Regions from separate parts of the Homo sapiens genome. Here region 1 is linked to region 2. The links are contacts of gene promoters, found by promoter capture Hi-C in blood cells and fetal thymus (Javierre and others, 2016). All regions are on one chromosome and are shown on one strand. The core of a region is centred on a gene start or on the middle of the fragment in contact, and the rest is flanking DNA. Distances in the headings are between cores, read along the strand shown. Region 1 overlaps MAGI1 (membrane associated guanylate kinase, WW and PDZ domain containing 1). Region 2 holds the start of MAGI1 (membrane associated guanylate kinase, WW and PDZ domain containing 1).

Region 1 (5,059 bases), core at 1,412-3,911, 270 kb after region 2:
ATTAATGGAATGTAAAACATTCAGAAGCCATAAAAAAAAAAAAAAAGAAACCCAACTATATGCCAGTAGTGTTTCATATAGCAAGTAGTAAAGAATGCTACATTGATTTTTAAAATACTTTCTGCACCACCTATGTAGAAGACAGGAGGATGAGCTATTTCAAAAGGAGTGGCAAAAATTGCAAACTAAGTAGGAAGGACAACAAAAAATTCTTATAGTAATTTATTTGACTAGATTTGGGGCACACTAAGTAAGTACGGGATTTATGGCAAAAATGTTTGTTTAATGTTTTTGTTTTGCAAATAATTTAAATTCATCAAAGAATAATTAGAAACTTTTTTTTTTTTTTTTAAAGACAGGGTCTCACTCTGTGACTGAGGCTGAAGTGCAGTGATGTGATCATGGCTCAGTGCAGCCTCAGCTTCCCAGGTTCAGGTGATCCTCCCACTTCAGCCATTGCATAGCTGGGACTACAGGCATGTGCCACCATGTCCAGCTAATTTTTTATATTTTTGGTAGAGACATGGTTTTGCCATGTTTCCCAGGCTGGTCTTGAACTCCTGGGGCTCAAGCAACCCGCCCACCTCCGCCTCTGAAAATGCTGGGATTACAGGTGTGGGCTACTGTGTTTGACCAGAAACCACTGTTAAAAAGAACTATATAGTATCACCTTTCATAATCATAGTTAATACTTTGGTGTATGTAACTGCACATTTTTTGTCTGCATATCCATTCACATAATGGACTATGTTTTCTTTAAGATGCTTTTTTTTTTTTTTTTTTTTTTTTTTGGCAGAGTGGGTGAGAAGAGAAAAAAACACTTAAAAAAATTTTTTTTTTTTTTCCAGAGAAGGTCTCACTCTGTTGCCCAGGCTGGAGTGCAATGGCACAATCTAGGCTTACTGGAACCTCCAAGTCCTAGGCTCAAATGATACTCCTGCCTCAGTCTCCCAAGTAGCTGATACTACAGGCATGTATGACAATGCCTGGCAAATTTTTTTGTATTTTTTTGTTGAGATGGGGTTTTGCCATGTTGCCCAGGCTGGTCTGAAACTCCTGGACTCAAGGAATCTATCTGTCTTGGCCTCAGAAAGTGCTGGGATTACAGGTGGGAGTCACCACGCCCAGCCTGAAAATACTTTGTTATATTCATAGGATTTCAGAAATTTTAGAATTAAAAAAATGCATTTGAGATCAATCAGTCTGTAGGTTACATTCATGTGGCTCTTTGGGTTGATAAGAATGATGATGATAATAAAAATAGCCAATATTTATTGAGCTCTTATTGTATGCTGGGTACTATGAAATTCATATACATTGTCTTGTTTCACTACTATCCCATGATGTTGACAACATTTTTATCCTAACTTTATAACTGAAGCTTAGAAAGGCTAAGTAATTGACTCATGTAGCTATCAATAGTGAAGACAGAAATCAAAATCTTCTCCCTATTGCCTAAGGCGAGTTAGTGTATCTTAGAACCCCTTGTTAGGCACAGAACATAGGCCCAGTACTAGTTGGCTCTTTGGTTGAATTTCTTGTTTTCCTCTTACTTAAAAATCACTTGTGATCTATATGTTCCATGTACTTGTTCATCACCAAATAGGAAAACATTTTGTGTATGCCATTTCTCTTAGGCAAGCAGATGTGAAATGTCAGGGTTAAGAATGGGTGCACAGTATATCCATAAACTATGTGAACAAAAGCTTGGTAGACTCTGAGTTTTTAGGGGACACAAGCCAACAGGATTATAAGGAAAGTATGAAAGCACTTATTATGAATTCTTTTCCACCAAAACCTGGACATTCAAAATAAGGAGAATTTTGCCCCAGGAAGATTTTGAATATATAACAAACATGGACTTCAGAAACTAATTATCCAAGAGGGATACAGGACACAATTTTTGCTCATTTCAAATACATTTTCAATAAATTCATGGGTGAAAAACATCACAGGAAGATGGTGGAGACAACAGTGGTATTAAGATAAGTATCTTCCACGCCTTTGACAGTAACATCAAAGATGATAACTACCATTTCACCCTGCTCAGGACTTCTTTGCTTGTGTAAAACAGAATTTTGGTTTAGCCGGAATTATATGTCAGTTATAGAAACTCATAACCAGGAAAAGTTTCACCCAATGTTAGAACAAAACCTTATTGTTAGCAATTAATTTTTTTTTTTTTTTAACTAGCCAGTGGATCTGGGGCTATGGAAACAGATGCCCATGTGCCACTTAGTTACTGGGATGGTTAGCATTATGGGAATCTGTAGTGTGTAATTTCTGTAATAAACCTGTTTATCCTTTGGAATTTTTTTCTCTTCCTGTGAAGTTTCCTTCATATCGTTCCCGGGAAGAAATTGTTCTAATTTGTACCTTGTTCAGCAACCACAAGTAACTTGTATTAAAAGGAAAACACAATGAGATATAAAAATTTTAATCTTTATATCGAATTAAAAAAGTCATTAAAATGAAAGACTCAAGTATGATTAAGGCATAAACACTCGAATCAAGGCAGTCTGAGACACAAAGAAAGCAAATTAGAGTACAGTTACATTTTCCTTCTGAATTCACCATGTTCTCCAGAAGGTAGGCTTGTGAACTTCCAGATGATAAACAAGGAGACTGTAACTTAGAATTCCAAGGCATATACATTAGCATCACAGCCAGACAATCCGAGTGATATGGATAGACCTTATGCTAGTGTATTCTGAGTTTACCTACCAGTGATCCCACCCCCACTCTTTTTTGTCTTTTTTTTGAGACAGTGTCTTGCTCTGTTGCATAGGCTGGAGTGCAGTGGCCCCATCATAGCTCACTGCAAACTCCACCTCCCAGGCTCAAGTGATCTTCCTGCCTCAGCCACCTGAGTAGCTGGGACTACAGGCATGCACTGCCATGCCTGACTAATTTTTTAATTTTTTATGGAGATGAGGTTTCACTGTGTTGACTAGACCAGTCTTGAACTCCTGGGCTCAAGTGATCTTCCTGCCTCAGCTTTCCAAAGTGCTTGGATTACAGGTGTGAGCCATGGTGCCCGACCCCCTACTCTTAAGGTTGTTAATCTTTTGGGGGTGTTGGCTGTTGTTTTAATATATTACTCCTACATCATAGTGATTCAGGGTTGGTGAGAACTTGAGAGCTCTTTTTCTACTCTGTCAGGTACTTTTATGAATACTTTACATATATGATTTCATTTATTTCTTACAACAGTCCTGCCAGGCAGGTAGAGTTTTTTTGCCATTTACCAGATGAGGAAACTGGTCCGTGGTAGATCAAAGAGGACGCTGGTGTGAGGTGGAGTCTGTATCTTCACCCAGTTCTGCAGACCTCATGACCTCTGTGCTTCCTGGTAACTTTCATCTGGTAGTCTTTCAATTCTTGCCTCCTCCCATTGCTTCCCCTCCTTAAATTCACATGCTGTTAATTGCTTTCTGTGCATCTTTTCTGTCATTTGTAAATGCAAGAAATTCTCATCAGCCTGTGCAGTAATCAGGAACTGGGTCGTAAAACCAGGTCCCTGGAAACATGTCTTGTCCCAAACTTAGACTCATTTACCTGCAATACTGCCCTCAGTGAGCCTGAAGTTTGTTAGCTTCCTGATTTATGAAGCTTATCCTTATGCTGTCTCGTTTTCCTTTTCTCTGCTCCCTGTTTGCTTCCTCTGTGTTTGCTTCACTCTCACGAAGTGTTCTCCATGTGGCAGCTCCTGGCCTACTTCCTTCTTATGGCTGCTGATCCCAGGGAAAGAGGTGTCCCTCCCTTGTAGCACCATGATCATTCTCTGCAGAGAACTCAGTTGGCTCAGTTAGGTCTTTTGCCTACATTGGTGGTGATTGGCCATCCCAGGTCCCATGCCCACTCCTGTGGTGAAAAAGCCAGGGTCTCATGATGGACAGCTGTACTCAAGTCCCCCCTGAATCAGTGCAGAAGAGACAAAGAAGGAATGGCTTTTCTCTATGGTCTGACAATGTTAACAGGGAGACACAGGTTCATAAAGTCTCTGTTTTGATGAGGAAAGAGGAAATTGGCCCCTACAAGGAAGGGATTGGGCCTAATAGGTTATATTGTTGTCTTTTTTTTCTTTTTCTTTTTCTTGAGACGGAGTCTTGCTCTGTCGCTCAAGCTGGAGTGCAGTGGCATGATCTCAGTTCACTGCAACCTCCGCCTCCCAGGTTCAAACGATTCTCCTGCCTCACCCTCTCCCTGGGATTACAGGCACCCACCACCAAGTCTGGCAAATTTTTGTATTTTTAGTAGAGACAGGGTTTCACCATCTTGGCCGGGCTTGTCTTGAACTCCTGACCTTGTGATCCACCCGCCTCGGCCTCCCAAAGTGCTGGGATTATAGGCGTGAGCCACCGCGCCTGGCCAGGTTATAAAAGATGCCACAGTATTCTTTTAAAATAGTCAAACCATAAATTAAGGTCTTACATGATCTAGCCTCATAGAATGGACTTCAGACTCCAACTAGTCCCTGCTTCTCATAGCATGCTCCATACAGCACTGGGGATTCCTGGGTTAGGCTGAAGGAGAGTCAAATAATGATGAGGCTTATTGAATAAAATTAAATCCATTAGATTTTGTTTTTTATTAAAGGTTTCAAAATTTTTTGTGCTGACTAGCTTATTTGCTTTCTAATGCTAGCAGAACATAAAACATTATAAGCTAAATAGCAAATAACTATTAATCACATTTGGAGAAGGCTGGTTATACCTTATTTTGATAGCTAGTTTTAAACAAATTGCAGACATGTAAACTGTGGTTGTGCTTTTATATTACACAGTTATAAAATTTTCTTTATTTATGATGAAATAAAATATCTCTATGTTTCCCTGTGTTCTGTAAAGAGATACTCACTTGCCCATGGTGCTATACTACCTGAAATAATTAAGAAACACCTTTAGGACTTTCCACCTCATATTCACCTACTATCTGAGCTGATATTTGCTGAGTAATCGTCTTCTTTTTTTTTTTTTGAGACATTGAGACAGATTCACTGTCTGTCACCCAGGCTGGAGTGCAGTGGTGCAATCTCGGCTCACTGCAACCTCTGCCT
Region 2 (5,174 bases), core at 2,299-4,798:
CTACTTGGGAGGTTGAGGCGTGAGAATCACTTAAACCCAGGAGGCTGAGGTTGCAGTGTGCCGAGACGGCACCACTGCACTCCAGCCTGGATGACAGAGTGAGAGTTTGTCTCAAAACAAACAAACAAACAAACAAACAAAAACCAAACAAAAAAACCCCCAACTCACATCACTACGCTGACATATACAGTAAGCTTGAAAGTTAGGTATTTTATAGCATTATTTCTCCCAACAGAATGTATTGCCAAATTCATAGCTAAAGTGAGACAAGTCAGAATACTAGGATCTTAGATCTATTCAGGAAAAATCTACTTCACAATGACATAACTATAAGCTCTTTTCATTGAAAGTAATGGCAAAACCTGCAATTACTCTTGCACCAACCTAATATAAATACCCCTGTTTTGGCAACCAAATCTAAACTGGCTTTGGATCAAAGGTCACATATTACACAATTTCATGTCATACTTCATCCATTTATTCAACAATTTCATGTCACACTTCATCAATTCACTCAACAACTGTGTATGGTGCACACTCCACACAAGGCATGGTTCATGGTTTTTGGTATTGAGGTTTCAAAGGTTGGATAGGAGAGAGATGATCTCTGCCTTGAACTTCTCCAGTCTGGGACACAGGAACTAGACCAGGTGAAACACCAGCCGGGAAGATGCAGAGGGAGCATCCTGGAAACTGGCAGCCTTGGCTACTTTGAAGGTTCAAATTATTTTTCCTTTTCCTGAATTAGAATAATGTCTATTCTCTCCATATTGCCCTCTGTGCCCACAGGTACTACTCCTTCTTTTGGGGCTTTTCCACATCTAAAACCTGACGTATGCTAAATTCCAAGTTCTTTCCTTTCTCAGCTGCTGTGGTGACACCTGGAATCCTGGCAAGAGGGGGATGTTGTTGCATTGGGAGGAATCACAAAACGCCTGGTCTTGTCCAGCCCTTGGACTCCCCCAGGCAGAGGTGAGAGTTGAGTGGAGAGGTAGGGGACTCCTAATTCAAGGTTGGTTGTGGGTATTCTTAGCAAACAATTACACTTTACTAGAATATGAAGTGGCAAAGTGGGGAAACACACAAGGCTAAGCTTACTAAGCTTACTAATGATTTGCAGGGGAATCTGTGACTCCCCACTAACATGGAAAGTAAAAATGTACATTTTTGTGGAAAGAGTCATTTGACAAATATTTTAGCATTTGCTAGTACGAGGCACCATTCTAGGAACTGGGAATAATACATCAGTAAACCAAACTGTCAAAGTGTCCTGACCTCCTTGAGTTTTTATTTTACACAGAGATGTGGATCACAGGTTTATTTGACAAAAAGGTCTGGGACCCAAACAATGCTTTGGAATCAAGATACTAAACCTATGGTGCTCAGCGTTGTGTACCAACAACACATAAGGGGAACCTTAAAAGTTCAAATGACTTAGCCCTTCCTTGACATTCTGATTGGCTGGATCTGTGCTCGGGTTTGATAATTTATGTTTTGAAGTGCTGTTCATATTGACCTAGATTGCTTCTGAAAAAAAGCTGGAGACAAAGTTCCTCTCACCAAGCAAAGCCATGGAAAATTGGTCACCTCCTTTTTTCAGAAACACAACAATGCAATGGGATTTTCAGTTCTGGATATCCCAAGAGAGAAGCATCAACATCCCTCCTTACTTTTATTAGCTTAGAATAGCACCCTACAATGCTTTAAAAGGATGTTTAAACGTATGCCTAAACCAGGTATGGTGGCTCACATCTATAACCCCAGCACTTTGGGAAGCTGAGTCAGGAGGTTGGCTTGAGCCCAGGAGTTTGAGACCAGCCTGGGCAATCAACATAGGGAGACCCCCCCATGTCTACAAAAAATCAAAAAAATAAAACTAGCTGGGCATGGTGGCATGTGCCTATAATTCCAGATACTCAGGAGGCTGAGGTGGTAGGATTGCTTGAGTCCAGAAGTTCGAGGTTACAATCAGCTAGTCGAGCTACTGCACTCCAGCTTGGGGACAAAGCAAGACCACGTTTCTAAAAACACCACCACCACCATCAAAAAACAAACACACAAAGTATGCCCATATTTTCTAAGTTCTAGAAAGGAGAGGATAAATTATCATACTTACTAACTTGAATCCCCAAATGATTTCCCAATTTTCTTCCCAAATAGTAATACTACTATTAAGAATATAATGAGTTTTTATTATTTGCCACTTTATAAGTGTTTTCCCACGTAATACTTCCAAGAACCCTGTGAGGTCTTGTTCTACTTATTTGATCAGCGAGAAACGGAGGCGCGGAGGTCACCAAGCTTGCTCAAGGTCACACAAGGGTGGACCCCTGAGCCTACCTCTCAACCTCGACTGCTGTGTCCATCCTTTCTTCATCGTTTCAACGTACCCCCCTCATTTCTTGGAATCTCTCCTGTGACCAAAGATGAACAAAATTATACATCACTAAAGAGGAAAACAAACTGCTGGGGAGACTACTCAGCAGCCTGATTTGAGGAGTATTTGGGAAGGGCAGCCTTCCTGTGGTATGGGAGTCTTTCTGTCCGCCACCTCGCCGGGACAGAAGTCACTCCATCCGCACCCCCGGGCGACCTCCGGAGGCCGCAGCTACCCCCGGGCTGCGAATTCCGAGTTCTCTCACGCCCCCGCGGGCGCCAGGACGCAGGGCATGTCCGCGCCCGGCGGGGATCCTTATCTCCTGGCCCCGGAGTAGGTCCGCAGGCTTCTCGGCCCTGCCAGGAACTTGAGGCCGGGGCAGATGATTGACTGGGTCCAGCAGTCTCTGCTGGCAGGGCAGTTGAAAAGCTAGAGGGATCTCTTTTTTGGTTGAATACCTGAACCCACACTAGCACCATGGCTTCTCTCTCTTGCCTGTAGTTTCCCGTGTCCTAAAAAGTTGGTCCCAAAGTTTAAGGATGCGGGTGTGTGTAAGAGCGCGTGTGACCCGCACAGGGATCCCAGTTGGGGAACCGGAGGATCCCACCGTCCCCCTCCCCCGGGTCGCAGAGACCCTGGCAGACCCCGCGCCAGGACCCGAACCCGCAAGCGCAGGGCAGGCAGGGAGGCGGCGAGCGCCCCGGGGCGGGTCTCGGGGGTTTCAGTGGGACCTGCGGCAAGGGGGGCGGCGAACCAGCCGGGCTGGGTGACCGACAGCCTGGCCAGCCACTGGCCGAGGGCGGTTAGGAGGCTTAGGGCCGGCGCGAGTGCGTGCGCGTGTGCGTGAGTGTGAGCGCCAGGGTGAGTGTGGCAGCCTCCCCAACCCCCACCTGTTTGAAATGGTTTTCAAATGCCAAAGCCAGATTGCCCGGGTTTCAAAAGTTGCAAACAGTTGGAGTAAAACACGTGTGCGGCCCTCCAGCCCCAAAGGAATCCGCGGAGTCCAGGGCACTGAAAGAAAAGGAGAGAGGATAGGGGTTCAGGAAGGGTTGGGGGGGAGTTGCCTTCTCCCGGCAGGTCGGTTTTAGGACCCATCGGGAAGCACGTTGGAATCTCTCCCTTCGGGGAGGAGGGGAGGGGTGGGCCGGCCGGCTGGCGGCCGCGGGGCGCATGCGCGCGCGTCTCCTGTCGCCGGCCGCTGCGCTCCGCGGCGCGGAATAGAATGAACTGTAACAAAACAAGCCGAGCCTTTGTATCTGCTTAAAGGGGCCGCGAGCACTTACCTCCCGCCCTGCTCCCCGCCGCCCCGCCACCGCGTCTTCAGGGCTCCCGGCAACTGGCTGGAAGGGCTTCCCTCACCCTCAGTAACAGCCTGCCAGCGAGGAGAGGCGAGCCGGGCGGGAGGCAAAGAGGAGGCACCGCATTTGTAAAAGGCAAGAGAGAAAGGAAGGAAGGAAAAAAAAATAACCCGAGCGGCGCAGAGTGGACTCTGGTCCGGGAGAGCACGGGCGGGCGCCGGAACGTGGACCCAGAGGCACCGGAATGCAAACAAAGCTCGCGGGCGCCTGTGCGGGGCTCGCGGGGAAGCCCAGAAAGTTTGTTTTATGATGGCTTGAGTGCGCGAGCGTGTGCAGGGGAGCGAGGCTGCCAAGTTTCTCTCTCCTGTTTTGTGATTTGGGGAGAGATGTTTCTCCCATGAACAAGCGGAGGCTTGGGGGCTCGTGCTGTGGGGGGCACCTGTCTCTCGTTTTATTTTTTTGGAGGAGGGGTGTAACTCATCATGTCCAAAGTGATCCAGAAGAAGAACCACTGGACTAGCAGGGTTCACGAATGCACCGTGAAGCGGGGACCCCAGGGCGAGCTGGGGGTGACGGTGCTGGGAGGCGCGGAGCACGGGGAGTTTCCGTACGTCGGAGCGGTGGCGGCGGTCGAGGCAGCGGGGCTTCCCGGCGGCGGCGAGGGCCCGAGGCTGGGCGAAGGGGAGCTGCTTCTGGAGGTGCAGGGGGTCCGGGTGTCCGGCTTGCCCCGCTATGACGTGCTGGGGGTCATCGACAGCTGCAAGGAGGCCGTCACCTTCAAGGCCGTCAGACAAGGTAAGGCAGGGCGCGCCTTTGGGGGGCGCCCCGAGAAAAGGAGGGTGGTCTGTGGGCTGCCCCTTATTCTCGATTTCCTGCTTCCCTCCTCGGAGCGCAGTGAAGAGAAGTTGAGGCCGTGCGCCCTGTGGTGGCGGTGAAATACACAAAGTTGTTGCGAGGTTGAGGGTTGTTTGCCCACCTGCGTTTCGAAGAGGGGGCTGGGTTTGCGCAAGGTAGCGGGGGGACGTTTCTCAGGCCTGGCTGGCCAACCTGTTATCTCCGCCACTAAGTGCAGCGCAGTCTCGCCTGCACCCGAGAGAGAGTTGGGGAACTGAGTCAGGGGCATGGTGGACGCTGTCCTGGCTCCTTGGGGGAGGGATGCAGCTGGCGTTCTTTGGCCACGAGTCAGTTTCCATACCTGCTGAGTGGGTATACAGAAAGAGAGGGTCTGTAGTTTATTGGACCTCCCCCATCAGAAAATCTGCTTCACCCCGCGACCCCTCCAGGTGAGCTAGGACACCACTGCCTGGCGGTTCCTGAGCCCGCCGCCAGAAGAGCCTGCATTCACCCCTCAGCCGGATGACGCATGTGTCTCCACCGTGTGGCTCAGCCATACACTTGGGAGGGGGAGAGGGGGAAGGGGTGCTTGCTTTTAGCTCGAATCGGGTCCAAGTTTACCCTCCCACCACCACCATCATCGTCATTATTGATGATGAAAATGA

Evidence for each region. Contacts are between HindIII fragments. The CHiCAGO score rates a contact against its expected background, and 5 or more counts as called.
Region 1: a contact is called between a fragment that was not itself captured here and the fragment with the promoter of MAGI1 in region 2, in 1 of 17 cell types (endothelial precursors). The highest score is 6.0, in endothelial precursors.

Annotation. Positions count from the first base shown.
Region 1 is chr3:65,771,235-65,776,293 of GRCh38, reverse strand. The region is part of intron 1 of MAGI1 (membrane associated guanylate kinase, WW and PDZ domain containing 1); the gene reads left to right. The region is part of intron 1 of LOC107986018 (a long non-coding RNA gene); the gene reads left to right. Among named protein-coding and RNA genes, the nearest start is that of MAGI1-AS1, 120 kb to the left of the region's middle. The HindIII fragment of the contact is 1,906 bases long and covers 1,709-3,614 here.
Region 2 is chr3:66,037,292-66,042,465 of GRCh38, reverse strand. It overlaps MAGI1 (membrane associated guanylate kinase, WW and PDZ domain containing 1), which reads left to right and starts at 3,548. Exons shown (of 23, transcript NM_001033057.2): 1 at 3,548-4,470. The coding sequence starts at 4,158. LOC105377128 (a long non-coding RNA gene) reads right to left here and starts at 3,513. Exons shown (of 2, transcript XR_001740440.2): 1 at 3,268-3,513; 2 at 2,172-2,414. RefSeq lists a silencer at 3,461-3,580 and an enhancer at 4,533-5,174. The HindIII fragment of the contact is 5,984 bases long and covers 2,304-5,174 here.